Linked DNA regions of Homo sapiens: region 2 is linked to region 1. Evidence: promoter capture Hi-C in human tissues and cell types (Jung and others, 2019). All regions are on one chromosome and are shown on one strand. Each heading gives the region's core, a stretch centred on a gene start or on the middle of the fragment in contact. The rest is flanking DNA. Distances are from core to core; before and after follow the strand shown.

Region 1 (5,278 bases), core at 1,111-3,610:
TTTGCTCAACAACTGAGCTTATTACATGATCAATTTAATTACCTATGTCAAAAGTGACTATTAACATACCTCAAGATTCTAAAGTAACTCAAGTTTTGGCTAATGAAGTCATATCAAGTGTACACGGTCTTACTGTATACTAATCATTCACTTCAAGTAAATTAGTATGATGACAACTTGATATACATATATTATCATAGCATAAGCTATTTTCAACAGTGCCCAAGGAAAATAAATGTTACTATAGTACTGATTTCTAGTTTATTTGCATGACTCTACTAACTTTCAATCGATTTCTTCAAAATCAGGCCTAGTAACCACAAACCAAAGAGTTTACTAGTGGAGTGAATTAAGAAGGTTTGATGGTATGTTAATGACTTTCCAAAAACTAGCATAAAGTACTACACATAAGAATAAATTATATTAAAGATTTATTCCTATGATACTTGTCTTCAGATGACCCTAAAATGTTTTACCAGCTTTGAAGTACAAGTATTCTCAAATCACAAAATCTTAGATTAGAAATAGTCTTAGAAGTCCCCCACTGCAGGAATTCTTTATACCACCTCCCAGGCAAAATGTTCTCCAGCCTTTGCTTGAATATTTCCAGCAATGTGCACTCACTATTTTGCAAGGCAGTGCACTCCACTGTTACAAATTCTTCCTTACAATCACTGGAAATCTGCCTCCCTGAACCAAGAATCCCAGTTCTGCTCTCTGAAACAACACAAGATATATAACCTTTGAAATAAAATCACTTATTAAGATATAGTTGTCAATTTCATCACACAAAATGCAATTAAAGCTCAGAAAAGAAGAAACCACAACCATACACAACAAAACTTTGAAATTCAGGAAATTATACTGAAATGACAAGCCAGCAAATTTCAGGATATCAAAGCTCACACCTCAGTTAACATACAAATATTAAGGGTAACCTGATGATTTTTTTACAGTGGAAAGTGGTACAGTGTTTATTAAATACCTTTTTTTGCAACCTGATACTACCAAATCCACCAACACCGTTTTTAAAATTACAGTTCTGTAGGAAGTTCAAGGTGGTTTTCCCAGTTGCTCGCATTTTCACTCAGTTTATTTCTCTCTAAAACATCTGGATGTTGGTTTTTTAAAGCCCATTTGCCCCACTGGTGCAATATATTGTTTTTAAAAATAAATATTTTCAAAAATGGAGCCTAAGAGAATGGAGTGTAAACGAATGGGGGTGGGGCGAGGAGAGAAGGCAAAGACGGGCCCAGCGGGGAAAGGCTGGTTACTGGGTATTTTCCTTCTGAGAGCATGCTTTATTGGCATAGGCATCTGAGGTAACGAGCCATACAAACACGACCTTAGAACAAGAATGATCACGAGCAATGAGTGTAAGGCATAAATATCTGTAAGACGGAAATAATTTGACACTGATCACTAAGCAGCACCAGATGCTTCGGGACCTCATAAAGGAAAGGTAAGAGGTCCAGGAAACAGAGATCATTGCTACCCTCTGGGGTGGGGGGCAGGCGGGAGAAACCAAGGAATAACTACGGTTGGGCAGTTCAAAGCCTGAACAGTACAGAGCAAAAGAAAGCCAGCAAGTGACTAGGGGAAGGCACACACCCTGGCGAGTACGAAGAAGGGTGTGCAGTGTGCAAATACTGAACAGGTCTATGAAATGGTGTGGGTAAGAGATGTGGGTGTGGGTAAGGGGCAACGCAGGAGGCTCACGGTCCCCTCCCTGCAGCAGAGCAACAGAGGGTAAAAGAAGGGGGAGGGTGAAAAGCAAGAATGACTCATTACCAAAAGGAAGTGCTCAAGCCATAGGGAGGCATGCCACAGGGGATTTCAGGGCGAGGATTGTGAGGAGCTAGGTGCTCAGGGTGATGGGGGCAAAAATCAACGTCTTGTAGTTCCTGCTGCTAGTCTTTAACATGGGGGTGTGGGGGGGTTCGCGGCAGCCGAGTGCCAAGGCCTGGGAAGCGGCGCGGCGCGTGCGCAGTGGCGTTCGGCGGGACCCGCTGAGGCAAAGCGGAGCCGCAGTGACAGAAGCAAGCGGAGCGGCCGCCAGGAAGGACTCACCGAGGCGCAGGGGCTGGAGGTGGTGCTGGGGGTAGGTGACCGCTGGACCGTGACCAAAGCCATCTAGGCGCTGCTGGGTTGTTCCGGGCAGGGCATTCTTGTCCTGAGTGTGGGGGACGGGAGGGTGACGGAGCCGGGATGGGGAAAGGGGTGCGGGGTGGGGGTGAAGGGAACGGGGAGGAGGAGGAGGCCGCGGGAACGGCCGCAGACTCCGCACCCACCACCAGACTGTCGCCGACTGACGCTCCGAACGGGCGGCGGGCGGGCGGTTCCGCAGCTGCGGGGCACAATGAGCGCTCCCAGTGCGCAGGCGCCACCTGTCAGCTACCGCCTCTCCCCTCGGCGCGCGCCGCCGCCTGGTCGTAACCCTTGAGTTGCCGGAAGCTGGCCGAGTGCGTGCGCCTCGGGCCGCCGCACCCTCCTGGGTTTCCTCCTTCGTGCTGGAATCGCGCGGTTTGCCAGCACTGGGTGCTGTGGAGTGGGGTGGGGGAAGGGGCCGAAGGGAGCCAGCCCGGTGAGGGGTCCCAGGGCGGGGGGCCGCTGGAGTCTTCACTCCTGAGAGACAACCATTTTATGAGGTGGGGCGGCGCACAGCTTAACCAACCTTAAAAAAAAGCAGCTGAGATGAAAATCCTGAAGCAAACACGTTTTCTATTGGGAAAGGGCTCCGCGGAGTTTCAAACCCTCTCACTGGGCGCAGACAGAACTGGGCTAGACCAGTTTACTCCCTTCACCCCGGCTCTCGGGGGCTTTTTCTTAACTTTTCCCCCCCTTCCGTCTATGTTTTATGATGAGACTTCTGGAAAGAAAACCATTTTCCGTTTGATACCCTGGAAAGGTTTGTGGTACCCTCATGCTTCCTCTATTGCCTGTCTAAAGACTTATTCATTATTCCTGAGGAGAAGAGAAGCTGAGCGCGCCTGGGAGTCCGAGGAAGCCGGTTGTGAGGGTCCAGCCTGCTATTGACCTCTCACTTGCCTCCTGCTGTGAAGACAGTCTTTTAATTAAACAGGATTTGCTCGTTAAGCTTTCTTCTCCTTCGTCTCTAAATGTCATTCTTTCATAGACCTATGTAAAAATGTAGATTAAAAGATATTTTAAGGGAATGGTTTTCTCAGGGGTAAATTGTCTGCAGAACATAAGCAAAGAATGTAATGGAAAATCAAGATTAAAAAGGAAAAAAATTGCACAATGCAAATATCACTGATTATTTACACAAAGAAAGAGAGTTGACAAGGCTATTTCTCAGCTTGAGTGGATGAGCTGGTAAATACCACCGTACATATCAAAGCTGTAGAAAACACACACACTTGGGAGTTTGCAGTTATTAAAACCCACCCCCTCCTGTTTGTCACTCAAACACTCTTGGATCTCATTGCTTCTTTTAAACTGACAGGGCTGTCATGAGCTCTTTCTGGCTGCTGTACGGTTAAACGCCACAAGAGTCCTCTGTGCTGAGCCTTTGTTCTCTCCCTGGGGCCCTGTGGTTGAAATAATTAGCAGGGAGGTTCCATCAAGAATCAGACACTGAGGGTCCCTGTACTGTACAGTCCTATGTAGAGTGTAGTGCAGAGAAGCCAGCTGGTAGGCTTTTGCCCCCTGGTGGTGATCAGGAGTGCCTGTGAGACAAAATTAAACAAAGATGTATGGTTCACAGATTAAACAATCTGACTGTGTTTTCCCCAGAGCTCCGTAGTAAACAGGAAAAGAGAAGGCAAGTTTCAGAAGTAAGAACTTTGAACCAATGCATGGGAGACCAAAGAGGAAACTAGATACATAGCCAAAAAATACACATAGCTAGAAGCTGAATGAACTCAAATAAATGAAATATATGTGCTTTATGAACCAAAGTATCATTCTAGAAAAAGTAATATTCAAATCTGTAGGTCTTAGTACTTGTATGTTGATTCTCTGACTCAGGGAGGGCAACAATGATGTTCTACTTTTTCATGGTAACATACTCTTCAGAAATTCTTTTGGAAGATGAAAGGCTTAAGTCCATTAACCTTGCAGTGAGAAAGAGCACTACCATAGGAATCAGAAGACCTGGTTTCTAGTTCCAGCTCTAAAACCTTATGCAAATGGCTTGAACTTTTTGAGCTTTAATTCCTTTATCTCTACAATGGAACCCTAACTGACAAGATTCTTGAGATAATGTATGGTAAAGTTCAGAATAAACTGTAAATAAAGCCCTCTATGCAATTAAGATAACTTTTTTTTTTTTTTTTTTTGAGACGGAGTCTCCCTTTGCCACCCAGGCTGGAGTGCAGTGGTGCAATCTCGGCTCACTGCAACCTCCGCCTCCCGGGTTCAAGCAATTCTCCTGCCTCAGCCTCCCGAGTAGCTGGGATTACAGGGGCCCGCCACCACACCCGGCTAGTTTTTATATTTTTAGTAGGGACGGGGTTTCACCGTATTGGCCAGGCTGGTCTCGAACTCCTGTCCTCAAGTGATCTGCCCACCTCGGCCTCCCAAAGTGCTAGGATTACAGATGTGAGCCACTGTGCCCGGCTTTTTTTTTTTTTTTTTTTTTTTGACACGGATTTTTGCTCTTGTTGCCCAGGCTGGAGTGCAATGGCACCATCTCAGCTCACTGCAACCTCCACCTCCCGGGTTCAAGCTATTCTCCTGTCTCAGCCTCCTGAGTAGCTGGGATTACAGGCATGTGCCACCACGCCCGGCTAATTTTATGTCTTTTTAGTAGATATGGGGGTTTCACCATGTTGGTCAGGCTGGTCTCGAACTCCTGACCCCAGATGATCCACCTGCCTTGGCCTCACAAAGTGCTGGGATTACAGGTGTGAGCCCCCGCACCCGGCCATCATTCTTTTTCTTAATAGTAGAAGTAGATTAGTGGTCAAGACATGTTTCATCTGTAGGTAAGTGTGGAACATTTTTGTTCCACATATCTAAGGTGATAAAATCCTGATCAAAATTGAATTATGGGATGACAAAATTCACATTGTTTGTATCAGGAAGTTAATTTATTAATTTTCAGGGGAAATATCTCTTCCTGGTATATACCTTTTAAGGAAACTAAGATTTGGAAATTATTGGTGCATGTTCATTAATTTATTTACTAATAATTGAGAAAATATTTATTGAATGTGTATCATATACTAGACACTGCTTTAAGAACAAGACAAATGTTTATCTACCTCTTAGGGGCTCAAAGCCAATTAGTAGGGGAAAACACATCAACAAATAA
Region 2 (5,278 bases), core at 995-3,494, 44 kb before region 1:
CACTGCCATTACTTTGGTTCATTTCCTTTAGCACAGAAACATTTTCAAGTCTACTGCATACTTTAAAAACAAGAAAAATATTTGACCTTGCATTCCTCCATCTAGATATAATCCTTTTTCTCCTTCTATTCATGAGAACTCTTGTGAAAATGAATACTCTATTTTTACTGTTTCTTTACATACATATATATATGATGAGTGAGAGAGGTTACTATGTTGCCCAGGCTGGTCTCGAACTCCTGGGCTCAAGCAATCCTCCCACCTTGGCTTCCACAAGTGCTGGGATTACAGGTGTGAGCCACTACACCTGGCCTATATTCACAATTTGTTTGATCAATTTTCTCTTCAACTTACCTCAATCAGGCTTCTCTGTCCCACCTCTCCACTGAAACTACTGTAGCCAAAGTCACAGGTGGCTTCCACACTACCAACTCATAACACTTTTCTTTGTATTATCGAATTTCTCAGTTGCATTTGACAGAATTGGACCATTGATTTCTTCCTAAAACTTTTGGCACACTATTTTCTACTGGTCTTCCACAAATTGCTTTCTGATTGCTCCTTTCAGTCTGTCAAATTCTCCTTTTCTACTTTTACCCCTTACATATGGGGGCTTTCAGGGTTCTGTCCTTGGCATCTATCTCCATGGGCATTCCTTGAGTGATGTCATCTCTCTCACAGCTTCAAGAGACTACAAACATTACTTTAGGATATTTTCATCACTGGTCTTCTTGGATATCTTACTGCCTAATTGGAACATGTTTGCTAACATATTCCACAGGATTACATACCTCAGCTGGTCCGCAACTGAACTCATCTTCCCACTAAAGCTTTACTTCTTGTACTTTTGTTAATATCATCTGCCATCTACTCAGCCCAACCAAGCTCAAAGTCTTCAAGAGTTAACCAGTCTTCTATCTTTATTTCACCTCATAATCCATCATCAGGCCTCTACCACTTCACTTTTTATATATTTCTGTAATCTATCTCATCCTGTCTATCCCAACCACAACTGCCTTAGTTTGAGTCTATGTTAGTTCCAGGACTTGGCAACTGCAACAATCCACTCTAAATTGTAACTCTGACCTTACATCTCTACATAAAACTTTTATGTTCCTCACTGCCAAAAGCAGTATTTTTTGTGTCAGGGTTACCTGTGGATGCTTGTAAAGATGCATATTCCTGGGTCAATCTGCATTTTTACATATTTTTCAACTTATTCTGATGCAATGTAAAGCCTGAGTACGGGCTAAAGTTTAAGTTTAAATTTCTTACCAAGGCATAAAAAGCCTCCAAGGTCTTGGCTCTTGCCTACTTAGTTCTCTAATCTAGCACCTCCCTTTTTCTCCCATCACGTGCTTTATTATCTAGAGTACTGAATTCATTTACACTTATCCAAGTGTCTCTGGCTTCCATGCTTTTGCTGTTCCTCTTTCTTCTCACCAAGTCTTATGCAACCTATTGCATATTATGCTTTTTTTCTATCAAGCAGGTACTAACTTTTAACTCTTATTAACCAAAGACTGGGGTTTCTTGCTATTGTATCATAAAAAAAAAAAAAAAAAAAAAAATCAGGTCTTTTTCCCCAGTTCCTGACACAGAGCTCCTAAAACCCTTGGAATTTCCTGAGTGACACGAGTGATAGAAGCATCTTTAGTTTTAAGGAAGTGTCTCTTGGCTGGCCCCTAGATAGCTTTAGGATGGGAGCTAGTCACCAGAAACACCAATCCTTGATTAGAAGCTTGTAATTTTCAGCTCCATCACATAACCAGGGAAGGAGTGGAGATTGAGTCAGTTACCAATGACCAATGATTTAATCAATAATGCTTACTGATATGGTTTGGGTATGTACCCACCTAAATCTCATCTTGAATTGTAGCTCCCATAATTCCCACATGTGATGGGAGGGAGCCAGTGGGAGGTAATTGAATCATGGAGGCTGGTTTTTCCTGTGCTGTTCTGGTGATAGCAAGTCTCACGAGATCTGATGGTTTTATAAAGTGGATTTCCCCTGCACATGGCTCTCTTGCCTGCCGCCATGTAAGATGTCCTTTTGCTCTTCCTTATTCTTCCACCATGATTGTGAGGCCTCCCCAGCCATGTGGAACTGTGAGTCCATTAAAACTCTTTCCTTTATAAATTACCCAGTCTCAGGTATGTCTTTATTAGCAGCGTGAGAACAGACTAATACAGTAAATAGGTACCAGGTAGTGGGGCACTGCTATAAAGATACCCGAAAATGTGGAAGCAACTTTGGAACTGAGTAGCAGGCAGAGGTTGGAACAGTTTCGAGGACCCGGAAGAAGACAGAAAAATGTGGGAAAGTTTGGAACTTCCTAGAAACTTGGAGGGCTCAGAAGACAGGAAGATATGGGAAAGTTTGTAACTTCCTAGAGACTTGTTGAATGGCTTTGACCAAAATGCTCATAGCGATATGGACAATAAGGTCCAGGCTGAGGTGGTCTCAGATGGAGATAAGGAACTTGGGAACTGGAGCAAAGGTGACTCTTGCTATGTTTTAGCAAAGAGACTGGTGGCATTTTGCCCCTGCCATAGAGTTCTGTGGAACTTTGAACTTGAGAGAGATGATTTAGGTATCTGGTGGAAGAAATTTCTAAGTGGCAAAGTGTTCAAGAAGAAGCAGCGCATAAAAGTTTGGAAAATGGCCGGGTGTCGTGGCTCACACCTGTAATCCCAGCACTTTGGGAGGCTGAGGTGGATGGACCACCTGAGGTCAGGAGTTTGGGACCAGCCTGACCAATATGGTGAAACTCTGTCTCTACTAAAAATACAAAAATTAGTCAGGCATGGTAGCGTGCACCTGTAGTCCCAACTACTCGGGAGGCTGAGACAGGAGAATTGCTTGAACCCAGGCGGTGGAGGTTGCAGTGAGCCAAGATCATGCCACTGCACTCCAGCCTGGGCGACAGAGAAAGACTCCATCTCAAAAAAAAAAAAAAAAAAAGTTTGAAAAATTTGCAGACTGATGATGTGATAGAAAATAACCCATTTTCTGGGGAGAAATTCAAGCCTGCTGAAGAAGTTGCATAAGTAACAAGGGGCTGAATGTTAATCACCAATTATAGCGCTCCTTCAACTTCTATTACACAGTTCTGAAGACACTTTACCAAGAGTATGTGGTATCCTTAAGTGCTAAAGCTGGACAGGACCTTAGAGATTAAAGATTTTTTTCTCGGATAAGAAAACCAGGACTAGAAAGATGAAAAGATTGACCAGAGCCAGAGTTAAGTGGTAGCAAAGCCAGATGAATGGCTCTCCTATCGAGCCAATGTAATTTCTTCAACATCATGCAGCTTATACTACTTTGGGGCCACCTATCTTATTTAATTATATGCCTATAGAGGATATTTTGTTAACAACTTAATACTTGAGATCAGTAGTAGTGTTATAAAAGCAAGCTATTAGCATAGAACACAATAAAAAAAAATCTTGGAGCAGGCATAGAAATTTTTGTACATCTTAGATATTATAACTACGAAATTATTTAGTGAGGATCAATAGAGGATAAACTTGAGCTTTAGTAAGAATAAACAAAAACAAAACAGAGTACTTTAGGTGTATTTCCTAGGTCCTATTTCCTAGACCCATCAAAAATGACATGGAATTCAAGACTGGAGTTTAAGACAAGAAGGGTAAGGCAGGCCAATCTTTGGTACGTGCTTTCAAGACAAGGGTCTCTGAAGTCGGATTGCCTGGATTCTAATCCTGTCCTACCCCTTATCTGTGCCTCTATTTCCTCATCTGTAAAATGAGGATGGTAATAGTACACATCTTCAGAGGGTGGTTGTCAGGACTGAATCAGATCATATTGATAAAGAGTTCAGAATAGTGCCTAGCACAGAGTAAGCCAATGTTGGTTGTTCTTATTTCTTTCTCTTTGAAGAGCAGAAACCTGGTCATCATAGTAGAGGGAACAGAGCTACTTTTAAATGGTCTTCTGCAGTTCAGGTTAGGGAATGCTATTACTAAATACTAATTTTAGAAAATAAATAAGTGCTTTCAGCTTATTTTAATGTAATTTAATGTGAAGAAAACATTTCCTTATCTTTTATAAAAACTAAGATGACCTTACAGAACACAATATAGTTTTTGCAGATTAGTATATGTGAAGATTATGAAAGAAACTATGCTGAGGCCAGGCGTGGTAACTCATGACTGCAATCCCAGCACTTTGGGAGGCCAATACTGGAGGATCACTTAAGCCCAGGAGTTTGAGACCAGCCTGGGCAATGTAGTGAGATCTCATTTCTACAAAAAAATTTAAAAGTTAGCCAGGCATAGTGGTACATGCCTGTAGTCCCAGCTACTCAGGAGGCTGAGGCAGGAGAATTACTTGAGCCCAGAAGGTTGAGGCTGCAGTGAGCCATGATCATGCCACTGCATTCCAGCCTGACCGAAAGAGTAAGACCCTGTCCCATCCACCCTACCCCCAGAAAGAAACTATGCTGAGACAGAGACTGCACTTGACTCTACCATGGAAACTAACAGATAGTGGTGAGAAAAAGCCTAAAATCACGAAGTCTAAGACTGAGGAATCTTTATGGTTCCATTGGATGGTTGGAAAGAGATTTGGAGAGAATCAGGCATTCAGTGTATTTCTTTCCCACTGAAATCCCAAGAAAGCAGAGTTGGAGTTTTATGTATGAGACTTAGTGCCATAGCATGGACAGCTTGGAAACTGGACAACTCTCTGGGATGGAATCCGTATAAGTGTAAAGCAAAAACCTAGTAATTTTTATAGACCAAATATTTTGATGGTTTATATTTCTACAGTATTAACAGCAACCTTAACCATACAAACAGTAGAAAAAGTCAGTATAAAGAAAGTGACAGCCAGCTGCAATGGCTATGCCTGTAATCCCAGCCCTTTGAGAGGCTGAGGTGGGAGGATCACTTTAGGCCAGGAGTGTGAGACCAGCCTGGGTAACATGGCAAAATCACATCCCTACAAAAAACTTAAAAAAAAAAAAAAAGCCAGGCGTGGTGGCACACTCCTGTAGACCAGCTACTCAGGAGGCTGAGGTGGGAGGATCACTTGAGCTCGGAGGGTTGAAGCCATGATAGTGCACCACTTCACTCCAGCCTAGGTGAAAGAGTGAGACACTATCTCAAAAAAAAAAAAAAAAAAAAAAAAAAGGAAAGAAAAGAAAAAAAGACTACTATGTTTCTAATTTAAAATAAAATTAAAGGCATTGTATATAAAATTTGAGTTTAGTTTTCTTAAAAAAAAATGGTGCTAAGACACCTGCAAAGCCAC

What was found. Contacts are between HindIII fragments. The study calls those that stand out against the background at their distance.
Region 2: a fragment that was not itself captured here is called in contact with the fragment with the promoter of SSH2 in region 1 in 2 of the 25 tissues and cell types used here (adrenal gland and aorta).

The regions. Positions count from the first base shown.
Region 1 is chr17:29,927,868-29,933,145 of GRCh38, forward strand. It overlaps SSH2 (slingshot protein phosphatase 2), which reads right to left and starts at 2,361. Exons shown (of 16, transcript NM_001282129.2): 1 at 2,071-2,361. The coding sequence starts at 2,133. It also overlaps a transcript of EFCAB5 not described here. RefSeq lists silencers at 1,561-1,610, 2,121-2,400, 2,551-2,640, 3,374-3,543. The HindIII fragment of the contact is 11,754 bases long and covers 1-4,480 here.
Region 2 is chr17:29,883,801-29,889,078 of GRCh38, forward strand. The region is part of intron 1 of SSH2 (slingshot protein phosphatase 2); the gene reads right to left. Among named protein-coding and RNA genes, the nearest start is that of SSH2, 44 kb to the right of the region's middle. The HindIII fragment of the contact is 5,413 bases long and covers 1-4,951 here.